4 separate regions of the Homo sapiens genome follow, and all the other regions are linked to region 1. The links are contacts of gene promoters, found by promoter capture Hi-C in blood cells and fetal thymus (Javierre and others, 2016). All regions are on one chromosome and are shown on one strand. The core of a region is centred on a gene start or on the middle of the fragment in contact, and the rest is flanking DNA. Distances in the headings are between cores, read along the strand shown.

Region 1 (2,710 bases), core at 108-2,607:
CATGCCATTGCACTCCAGCCTGGGCAACAGAGTGAGACTCTGTCTCAAACAAAAAAAAAAAAAAAAAAAACAAAAAAACAGGACTTTGAAGACAGCATAAAACATCTTTATTGATTACATGTTGAGATAATGTTCCGGATGTTTAGGTTAATACTGAAATCCAGCTTGCTGTTTCTTTTCACTTTTTATTAAATGTGACCACTAGAACATTTAAAATTACACACGTGGCTTGGTCAGTATTTCTCTGGGGCAATGCTGATCTAGAGGCAGAGACCATCCCTCCCCAGCAGTTAGACCTCAAGACTAACTGCTGTCCCCTGTGGGGATGATGTGGTGGTACATTATGTCTGCTGCTCTGGTGTGGCCCTGTTTTTATTTTTGGGTGCTCAGTAAATGTTACTGGGAGAAATGAATTACAGGAAAAATGAGTCCTTTCCTAGCCTCCTTCAATGAGGTTTGCAACATTAAAGTCACCACGGGCCACTTTCACTGGAAGCTGTCAGTGTCGGAGGTTTGGAAATTAACTGAGAACTACAGACAGGAAAGGTGTAAAGCAAATTATTTTCCTATCAGATTGACATTTACAAGAATAATGGGAAGGAGCATGGAAAAGAGGAAGCAGGTCAACCTTCCTTGAGGACAATTAGATAATAGGCATCAAAAGTCTTAAGTTGTATAAAACCTGTATCCTAGAAATTTACCTTTTCGTAGTTTATTCTAAGGAATTAATTGGACAAAAGCACAAAGACATCTAATTGTATTATTAAAATGGAAAGTTTAATATTCAACAATAGCAGATAGGTTAAGTACATTAGGACATTATGAAGTGGCTTAAAACGGACATTCAAAAAAAGGAAATGGAAAACCTGAGTAATGTACAGCTTGTATGGAATGAACTAAAAATATATAAATTTTTGCATAGGTAGAATGACATTGGAAGAACATACACCACAATGTTAACTGATTATCTCTGGGTGTTGGAAAATGATTGATTTATCAACTTTTTTACTGTTATTTCTTTTCTTTTTTTTTTTTTTGCAATGAACAGGCATGCTCTGGCAGTTTTTAAATGAAGTATGGAAATTATGGATTGTGCAGTCATAGTCAACGTTCATTGAGAGCTTACTTTATATAAAGCATCATGCTCAGCATTGTGCTTTGTGGCATTTGATTTTTTAAAAATCAAACGCCCTCCAATCTTAAGCAAGGATGATGGCCAAAAGGTCGGCTTATTACCCAACTGCAACAATAGGAGGGACAGGTAATTAAAAGGCAATTGCCATGACAAATAGAAAAGATGCCAAAGTCAACATTTTTTCAAGGAGCTATAAAGCCCGTGGAGGAGTCAGCTGACGGCACAGTGTTCGCGGCTGCACCGCTCGGAGGCTGGGTGACCCGCGTAGAAGTGAAGTACTTTTTTATTTGCAGACCTGGGCCGATGCCGCTTTAAAAAACGCGAGGGGCTCTATGCACCTCCCTGGCGGTAGTTCCTCCGACCTCAGCCGGGTCGGGTCGTGCCGCCCTCTCCCAGGAGAGACAAACAGGTGTCCCACGTGGCAGCCGCGCCCCGGGCGCCCCTCCTGTGATCCCGTAGCGCCCCCTGGCCCGAGCCGCGCCCGGGTCTGTGAGTAGAGCCGCCCGGGCACCGAGCGCTGGTCGCCGCTCTCCTTCCGGTGAGTCCCAGCCCCGAGTTGGCTCTGGCGCCCGGGTACCCGCCAGTGCCGGCTGCCGATGACCGATTCACGCTCCCGGTACTGGGGCCCCCTCTGCCCAGCCACCCCTACCCAGAGCACCCGGGCTGCGCGGCCCCGCCGAGGGTGCGGGCTTTGTTCGCATTGTCTGCGCGCACCTGAGCGCGGCCTTCCTGGCACGGCGGCGTCGGGGGAAGAGCGCACCTGGCGCGCGCCTCCCTCGTGGCCACTCGCGGTCCGTCCCGGGCGAGCTGGCGGGGTTTTGGGAGGGGTGCGGTCAGCAGGTAAGTGGGTAGGGGCTCCGGGTACAGGGGTGGAGGAGGGCATGTATTAAACCCAAGCTGCCCTCCTGGCACAGTAGCGGGGCCCCCTTCCCTGGCGGCCGCGGAAAGGGACTCGCCCTTTGAATAAAGGCTTTGGTGACATGCTCGCTTCCACCCCACACCCCACTACAGGACATACACAGGTGTTAAGGGGACTTGGGGCAGTTTTCCCAGGCAGAACGAGTGCCCCCAGCGAAGTGTCTGCAAGCAGAACCTGAGAGGGGCCGGCTGCCCCGAGAGTCCTCGCGCTTGGGCAGTGGGAAGTCCAGGGGTTTGTCGTTCTGGTGACTTCCCCCACCTGGCTCAGCCCTGCTTCCTGCATGTCTCCTTCCCTTCCAATAAGGCTAACAAAACTTTCCCTAGCTAAGCCGACCTTTCCCTCCCGCCTTGGGCCCTTGGCCACCTGCTGGGACGGTGAATGGGAGAGTCTCAGAATTGAACCTTGAAAACTTGCTGGGGGCACCAGACAGAAGAGAAGGGAGGAGGGCACCTTGCTGCTTGTGATTGTGGAATCAAGGGCTCCAGCTGAAGCTGAAAGGGGACTTAGCAATGGGGACCTCATGCCATGTGTTTGATGTCTTGGAGATTGGAATAATTAGAACGTGTACATTTTTCAAATTACAAGCTGCTTTAAGTAAAACCCCAGAACCTCTAAGTGTTTTATAAATTCAGTCCCAAAAATTCAAGGTCTCTTTT
Region 2 (2,710 bases), core at 59-2,558, 550 kb before region 1:
TCTTTCTTTCTTTCTTTCTTTCTTTCTTTCTTTCTTTCTTTCCTTTCTTTCTTTCTTTCCTTCCTTCTTTCCTTCCTTCCTTCCTTCCTTCCTTCCTTCCTTCCTTCCTTCCTTCCTTTCTTTCTTTCTTTTCTTTCTTTTTGAGACAGAGTCCCGCTCTGTCACCCAGGCTGGAGTGCAGTGGCGCGATCTTGGCTCACTGCAACCTCCACCTCCCGGGTTCAAGCGATTCTCCTGCCTCAGCCTCCTGAGCTGGGACTACAGCCGTGTGCCACCATGCCTAGCTAATTTTTGTATTTTTAGTAGAGACAGGGTTTCACCATGTTGGCCAGGATGGTCTCAATCTCTTGACCTATGATCCACCCGCCTCAGCCTCCCAAAGTGCTGGGATTACGGGTGTGAGCCACTGTGCCTGGCCCTCCATCTTCATTTCTGATTTAGCTTATTTGAATGTTCTCTCTTCTTTTATTGGTAAATCTAGCTAATGGTCCCCTGAGTTTATCTTTTCAAGGAAGCAACTTTTTGTTTCATTGATCTTTTGCATTTTTTGTTTCAATTTCATTTATTCTGCCTTGATCTTTGTTATTTTCTTCTGCTAGCTTTGGGTTTGGTTTGTTCTTGCTTCTCTAGTTCCAGGAGGTGTGACTTTAGGTTGTCAATTTGTCATCTTTCAGACTTTTTGATGTAGATATTTAGCACCACAAACTTTCCTCTTAGCACTGCTTCTGTTGTATCCCAGAGGTTTTGATAATGTGTGTCACTGTTATCATTCGTTTTGAAGAATTTTCAAATTTCTATCTTGATTTCATTGTTAACCCAAAAATCAGTCAGGAGCAGACTGTTTAATTTCCTTGTTTTTATATAGTTTTGAGGGTTTCTTTTGGAGTCGATTTCTAGTTTGATTCTGGTGTAGTCTGAGAAGATACTTGATATGATTTTCATTTTTAAAAATTAATTGAGACTTATTTTGTGGCCTATCACATGGTCTGTCTTAGAGAATGTTCCATATGCTGATGAGAAGAATGTATATTCTGCAGTTCTTGGGTAGAATGTTCTATAATTATCCGTTAGGTCCATTTGTTCTGGAGTGTAGTTTAAATTCAGTGTTTCTGTGTTGACTTTCTGCCTCAGTGATCTGTCTAGTGCTGTCAGTGGAGTATTGAAGTTCTCCAATATCATTATGTTGCTGTCTATCTCTTGTCTTAGGTCTAGTGGTAATTGTTTTATGAATCTAGGAGCTTCAGAGTTATGTGCATATATATTTAGGGTTATAATATCTTCCTGTTGGGTCAATCCTTTTATCATACTTTCTTTGTCTTTTTGTTTGTAAACTGTTTTTCTTTAAAGTTTGTTTTATCTGATATAAGAGTAGCAACTTCTGCTTGCTTTCGGTTTCTATTTGTGTGGAGTATCTTTTTCCACCCCTTTACCTTGATTCTATAAGAATCCTTTGTATTAATTAGCTCAGCTTCTTGAAGACAGCAGACATTTGGTTTGTGATTTTTTTTTTAATCCATTCTGCCAATCTGTATCTTTTAAGTGGAGCATTAGGCCATGTACATTCAACATTAATATTGAGGTGTGACCCAATCATCATGTTGATTGTTACCTGGATACTTTGTTTTTTTTATTGTGTTATTGTTTTATAAGCCCTGTGAGTTTTGTGTTTTTGAGAGGTTCTATTCTGTTGCATATTGACCTTTTATTTCAGCGTTTAGAATTCCTTTTAGCATTTCTTGTCGGGCTGATCTGGTAGTGGCAAATTCCTTCAGCATGTGCTTGTCTGAGAAAGACTATATCCCCTTCATTTATGAAACTTAGTTTTGCTGTATACAACGTTTTTGGCTGAGAGTTATTCTGTTTAAGGAGGCTAAAAATAGGGCCCCAATCCTTTCTGGCTTATAAGGTTTCTGCTGAGAAGTCTACTGTTAGTCTGATAGCTTTTCCTTTGCAGGTTATCTGATACTTCTGTCTTACTGCTCTTAGAATTCTTTCCTTCATGTTGACATTAGTAATAGCCTGTTGACTGTATGCCTTGGAGATGTCCATTTTGCCATGAATCTCCCCGAAGGGCTTTGACCTTCTTGTATTTGGATGTCTAAATCTCTGGCAAGGCTAGGGAAGTCTTCCTCAATTATTCCCTCAAATAAATTTTCCAAAATTTTTACTTTTTCTTCTCCCTCAGGAACACCAGTGATTCTTAGCTTTGGCCATTTTACATAATCTCATATTTCTTAGAGACTTTGTTCATTTCTTTTAGTTATTTTTTCTTTATTTTTGTCTGACTGGGTTTATTCAAAAGCCTTGTCTTCGAGCTCTGAAATTCTTTATTCTACTTGGTCTAGTCTGTTGTTAAAACTTTCCACTTGTTTTGTAACTCCCTAAATGTGTCTTTCATTTCTAGAAGTTCTGATTGTTTTTTTTTCCTCTAAAGTATCTATCTCTTTAGAAAAATTTTCATTCATATCCTGAATTTTTAAAAAACTTTCTTTATATTGGTTTTCACCTTTTTCTTGTATCTCCTTGGGTAACTTAATAATCAACCATTTGGATTCTTTATTTGGTATTTCCAAGATTTCATCTTAGTTTGGATCCATTGCTGGAAAGCTAATGTGATCTTTTGGGGGTGTTATAGAACCCTGTTTTGTCATATTGCCAGAATTATTTTTCTGGTTCCTTCTCATTTGGATAGACTGTTTCTTCTAATTAT
Region 3 (2,710 bases), core at 147-2,646, 550 kb after region 1:
AAAAGACAAAAATCAGCTGGGTGTGGTGGCACATGCCTGTAGTCCCAACTATTTAGGAGGCTGAGGTGGGAGGATGGCTTGAGCCTGGGAGGGAGAGGTTGCAGTGAGCCAAGATCACACCACTGCATTCTAGCCTGGGTGACAGAGCCAGACCCTGTCACACACAAAAAAGAATCTTGCCCAAGGACACAGAGTGAATGGTGGACACAGGTTTTGAATTGGTCACAAAGTCAGTATTCTTATAAGCTTTATTTCCTTCTTGATTATTTAGTAGGCCCACTTAGCAAGATACTGATACATCAGATAACTTTCATTTAATAGATATCAAGAATAAAGAAGTAGAATAAGGAACAGAGAATTTATCCTTTCAGACAACTTTTTCCTTTGGCTTCCTGGACACCACTGCTTTGTGGTTCCCCTACCTCCTGCTGGCTGCTCCTTCTTCTTTCTGTGGGATTCTCCTCTTCTCCTTCTCAGGTCTTGATCCTCTTCTTCCCTCCATCCATGAGGCTCCTTGGGTAAACCAATCCAATCCCATGACTGTTAATACTGTTCATATGTTGATGATTTTCAAATTTATATTTCCAGCTTGGACCTTTCCCTTGAACCCAGATTCTATATTCAGCTGCTTTATCAATGTCTCTATGTGGAGATCTGATATAATTTGGATCTGTGTCACCACCCAAATCTCATGTTGAAATGTAATCCCCAGCTGGGTGCAGTGGCTCATGCCTGTAATCCCAGCACTTTGGGAGGCAGAAGTGGGAAGATCACCTGAGGTCTGGAGTTCGAGACAAGCCTAGCCAACATGGTGAAATCCCATCTCTACTGAAAATACAAAAATTAGCCAGGAATGGTGGCACATGCCTGTAATCCCAGCTACTCAGGAGGCTGAGGTATGAGAATCACTTGAACCTGGGAGGCAGAGGTTGCAGTAAGCCGAGATCGCGCCTCTGCCCTCCAGCCTGGGCGACAGAGTGAGACACCATCTCAAAAAAAATAAAAAGAAAAAAAGAAATGCAATCCCCAATGTTGGAGGTGGGGCCTGGTGGGAGGTAACTGGATCAGGAGGGCAGATTTCTCATGAATGGTTTAGCACCATCCTCTTGGTGCTGTCCTTGTGATAGTGAGTGAATCCTCATGAGATCTGGTTGTCTGAAAGTGCGTGGCACCTTCCCTCACTCTCTTGCCTTGGCCATGTGACGTGCCTGCTCCCCCTTTGCCTTCCACCATGACTGTAAGTTTCCTGAGGCCTCCCCACAACCAAGCAGATGCCAGCACCATGCTTCCTGTACAGCCTGCAGAACCATGAGCCAATTAAACCTCTTTTCTTTATAAATTACCCAGCCTCAGGTATTTATAAAAGCAGTGCAGCTTTATGCTGCACTTTATGCTGATAGTGCAGCATAATTGACAGTGGCCCCAGCTCCTGCACCTGAAATCTTGATCCCTGTGTTCTTGCTGAGGCTGGGTGTCCCAAAGGCTACTCCCAGCTAATGACTTGAGTGTGGCAGGAACACAGGAGCAGGCCCATTACTGGGAGATGGGAGACTCCTCTGATGGGTAGTTTGGGCTCAAGGACTCCCTACTGGCCTTGCCAAACTTTCACAGAGCTGTACTGTAGTCTCCAAGTCTCCCGTCCATCCTTTTGCCCTCCCTCTGTCTATTACCAGGGTCAGACCTGCATTGCAGTCTGAAAGCTCTCAAACCCTATTCTGGCACCCTCTCCATCTCCCCTCACAGGTGTTCCTCTTAATAAATCTCTTGCACATCTTCTAGTTAGTTGGACTGCTTCTGCAGTTACAGTCCTGTAGTCTCTTCACGCAGCAGCCAGAAGTGATCAAGCTAAAACCAAATTCCTTTCCATCTCCTGTAGGCACCATGCAGTCTGGCCGCTGCTTCTCCATGGATCCCATCTCCTCTTGGACTCTGCTGTGGCTACACAAGTCTCCTGGATGTGTCTGGACCTACTAGGTTTGGTTAACTTGCCTTTGCACTAGTCTTCCTCTCCGGAATATTTCTGTCCCAGATACATACATAGCTTGACCCCTCTACTTATTCGTGTTCGCTATCCTCTTACCCTGCTTCATTTTCTCTTCACTACATTTAGTCACCATTTGATATATTATATCTCTTTTGTTTATTGATTCTCATCCCCAATTACAATGCAAGTGCCATGAAAACATAGACTTCGTATGTCTTATTTATTCCCATATGCCCAACAACCAAAAAATGTACCTGGCACATAATAAGTACTCAGTAAGTTTTGCTGAATGAATGAATGAATTTTTACTAAGAACCATTTATAGGTTCATTTAAAAAATCAAAGGAATTTACAAATGTAAGTTTGATTATGAACATCTGAGGTTTCTGAAAAATGAGATACAACTAGAAAAATGAGTAACATCAGTAATTGAGGATACATATTTGTGTTTTTTGGGGTTTCTTGATGCTGATGTTTTTTAATGCTGAAATTTTGTAAAATAAAATTCAAACTACATACTAATCACTAACCTTTTTAATATAAAATAGTACTTTATCTAAAGCAAGCTTGACCCACAGTTAATTAGCTGGATCATAGCCAGGAAAGTGCTAAAATGTCAAGGAAGTGAAAATTGTCTTTCTTTGACTCTCAGGAGTACAAGTAAAACCAGGGAATAGCTGGCAAATCTATTTTTTTCAAGTATAGTGAGAAAAAATACAGGAAAAC
Region 4 (2,710 bases), core at 62-2,561, 530 kb before region 1:
ATTTCATCCCTCTCTGTGAAATGGAACTAATACCTCACAGAACTCTTGAAGATTAAATGAGATAATATATGTAAAGTGGTAAATGATCAAAAAATGATGTTTATTATAACTGTATTTATTATTGTTGTTATTGCTGACACAGTGGAGTAAGAAGTTTAAAAGGCTAGGCAGAGGGATAAAGTCACAGTGAAAAATAGAAAAACGGGGTGTCTAGGGAGCCCCCTCAATTAGCACAAAAAAGTATGAATCCAGTGATCTTCAAAATAAGCCAGATCTTGAAATCCGTTTGTAGCAAGCAAGAGACTTTTAACTGTTAAATGGCAATTATTAGTTTAGTGTTTTAAATAACTTATTTGCATATAATAAAAAGTTACACAGAGTTCTTCCACTCTTGCCTACTGTCTGCTCCCAGCTCCCTGTAACACAGATAACCACGCTGAAAGATAGACATAATAATGAACCGGCGTCAGTGTCGGGAGTAAATACCCAAGATTCATTGTCTCACGGCCACGGAAAACTAAGACACAGACACACAAATACTGAGGTTCAGAGTGGAAGTTTAATAAGCAAAAGAAAGAGAAGAGCTCTCTCTACTGCAGAGAGAGGGGTCCAAGAGAAATGGATTGCTGGTTCCGCAGTGGAATGCAAGGCGTTTCATAGATGAGCTTGAGGAGGCAGTGGCTGATTTACATAGGATGCAAAAGATTGGTTGAACCAGGTGTGTCATTTGCATAGGGCACCAAAAACTGTTTAGGGCTAGGTGTGTCATTTGCGTAGGGCATGAAAAAGCTGGCCACCCCACACTCATCTTTTATTATGCAGCTGGTTCTCCACCTGGCCAGCGCCATGTTACCTGTTTCCTTACTGTACATGTGGTGGCAAAGAAAAGGGAAGAGTGGAGCCTCCATGTTAAACATACCTGGCCCTTACGTAGCCCTTTTCTACTGGCATAGCTGCCGGTGTTCACCCGTGCAAGCTTCCAGCTTGCTTATCTATGTCTGCAGCTTGATTTTTCAGACTGCTCTTTGTTAAAAAAAAAGAAATTATTTGGGGCCTGCTTTTTGTTAAAAGGGAAATTCTGTGGAGGACTCTTATACCCTTACTATCTGCCTAAATAATTTCTATCTCCTGTATCAATAACAGTAATAATCATGATGTTTATTTACCACTTACAACAGGACACACACTGTTCTAAATGCTTTGTGAAGATTAACTTGTTTACAGGCTCTGAGCAAATGCTGTTATTTTGTCCTTTTAACAAATGAGGAAGCACAAGCACAGAGAGGTTAAGTAATTTGCCCACAGTCACACAGCTATGCAGTAGAATAGGGAGTCAAATCCACACAGCCCAGCCCCTGAATCCATGGATTTATCTACTGCACCATCCTTCAAGTGTCTCTTTATGCAGATACGAGCAAATCTAAACATATTTTCTTTTCTTCTTTTTTTTTTCCAAAAGGTAGCACACTGCTGCCATTGTTCTGCAATTTGGTTTTGTTCTGCACTTAACACGACTTATTGGAGATTGTCCCACATCAGAACATAAAGAGGTTCCTCATTCTTGTTTACTGTACTGTGTGATTTTGATTAAAGAACCCTCCCTTTATGATCCAACCTGGTTATTATGGGAGCGAGTGACTAATTGAATAAGCTTATGTCTGCCAGATAGCTCTTGTAATTGAAGTGTGCTATGAAGGTTCAACACTGGAAATGGGAGAGTCAGGGGAAATGAGGGAAGAAAACTTATTACTCCAAAAATGTTTCCAGGTAGTATTAGGTCTCCCACCTGAAAGAAATACTCAAGCAAGAGTTGTCCTGCGTTCGGGCTGCCCTAAATTAACTCCCTCTCAGAAATCTGTTCTCTTCCTATATGTGAGCTTTGAGCCTAATGAGGCTGTACCTAATGAGTGTCTCTGCAGCAGCCTTGCAACAAGAATTGGCAAAATGGAAGTGCGGGTACCAGTGTGCCTGCCCCTCCCTCACCTGCCCCTGACATGTCCTGCTGGTCACCAGGCAGGACGGCAGCTCCATTTAGCTGATCACCTAAACAGAGGTGGCCCAGGGCCTCTGACTGTGGTGTTTCTTCAGCACGAAACGCTCTTCACTCATTCACAAAACACTGTTGAGCACCTGCTATGTGTCTGGCACTGTTGTAGAAGCTGGGGGAACTGCAGTGAAGTAGTCCAGGTCCTGCCCTCATAGAGTTTACACTCTAGCAGGAGACAACATAGCTCTGTAATTTGAGGTCAGGTGATGAATTTAAAAATTAAAGCAGGGGCCGGCGTGGTGGCTTACACCTGTAATCCCAGCACCTCGGGAGGCCGAGGTGGGCAGATTACCTGAGGTCAGGAGTTCGAGACCAACCTAGCCAACATGATGAAACCCCATCTCTACTAACAAAATACAAAAAAAATTGCCCGGTTATGGTGGCGTGCACGTGTAATCCCAGCTACTCCTGAGGCTGAGGCAGGAGTGGGAAGGAAAAAGTGGATATAATAGGGGTAGTAACTCATGTAGGCCCTGTGGGCTGTGGTCAGGACCCTGGAGTTCCTTCCCAGCATATGGGAAAACCACTGGATGGCTCTGGGCAAGGAACTAATCTGACTGGATTTATATATTTTTTTTTTTTTAAATACAGGGTCTCCGTTGCCGAGGCTGGAATGCAGTGGCGCGATCTCGGCTCACTGCAGCCTCTGCCTCCCAGGCTCAA

Evidence for each region. Contacts are between HindIII fragments. The CHiCAGO score rates a contact against its expected background, and 5 or more counts as called.
Region 2: a contact is called between a fragment that was not itself captured here and the fragment with the promoter of VWA2 in region 1, in 1 of 17 cell types (megakaryocytes). The highest score is 5.4, in megakaryocytes.
Region 3: a fragment that was not itself captured here is called in contact with the fragment with the promoter of VWA2 in region 1 in 5 of 17 cell types (total B cells, non-activated CD4 T cells, total CD8 T cells and 2 more); the score reaches 6.5 in total B cells.
Region 4: a fragment that was not itself captured here is called in contact with the fragment with the promoter of VWA2 in region 1 in 1 of 17 cell types (fetal thymus); the score reaches 6.2 in fetal thymus.

Annotation. Positions count from the first base shown.
Region 1 is chr10:114,237,897-114,240,606 of GRCh38, forward strand. VWA2 (von Willebrand factor A domain containing 2) reads left to right here and starts at 1,358. Exons shown (of 14, transcript NM_001272046.2): 1 at 1,358-1,673. RefSeq lists an enhancer at 1,269-1,977. The HindIII fragment of the contact is 4,541 bases long and covers 1-2,710 here.
Region 2 is chr10:113,687,849-113,690,558 of GRCh38, forward strand. All of the region lies in intron 1 of CASP7 (caspase 7), which reads left to right. Among named protein-coding and RNA genes, the nearest start is that of CASP7, 9.3 kb to the left of the region's middle. The HindIII fragment of the contact is 4,707 bases long and covers 1-2,710 here.
Region 3 is chr10:114,792,160-114,794,869 of GRCh38, forward strand. It overlaps a transcript of ABLIM1 not described here. Among named protein-coding and RNA genes, the nearest start is that of FHIP2A, 28 kb to the right of the region's middle. The HindIII fragment of the contact is 2,304 bases long and covers 245-2,548 here.
Region 4 is chr10:113,712,187-113,714,896 of GRCh38, forward strand. The region is part of intron 2 of CASP7 (caspase 7); the gene reads left to right. Among named protein-coding and RNA genes, the nearest start is that of CASP7, 34 kb to the left of the region's middle. The HindIII fragment of the contact is 675 bases long and covers 975-1,649 here.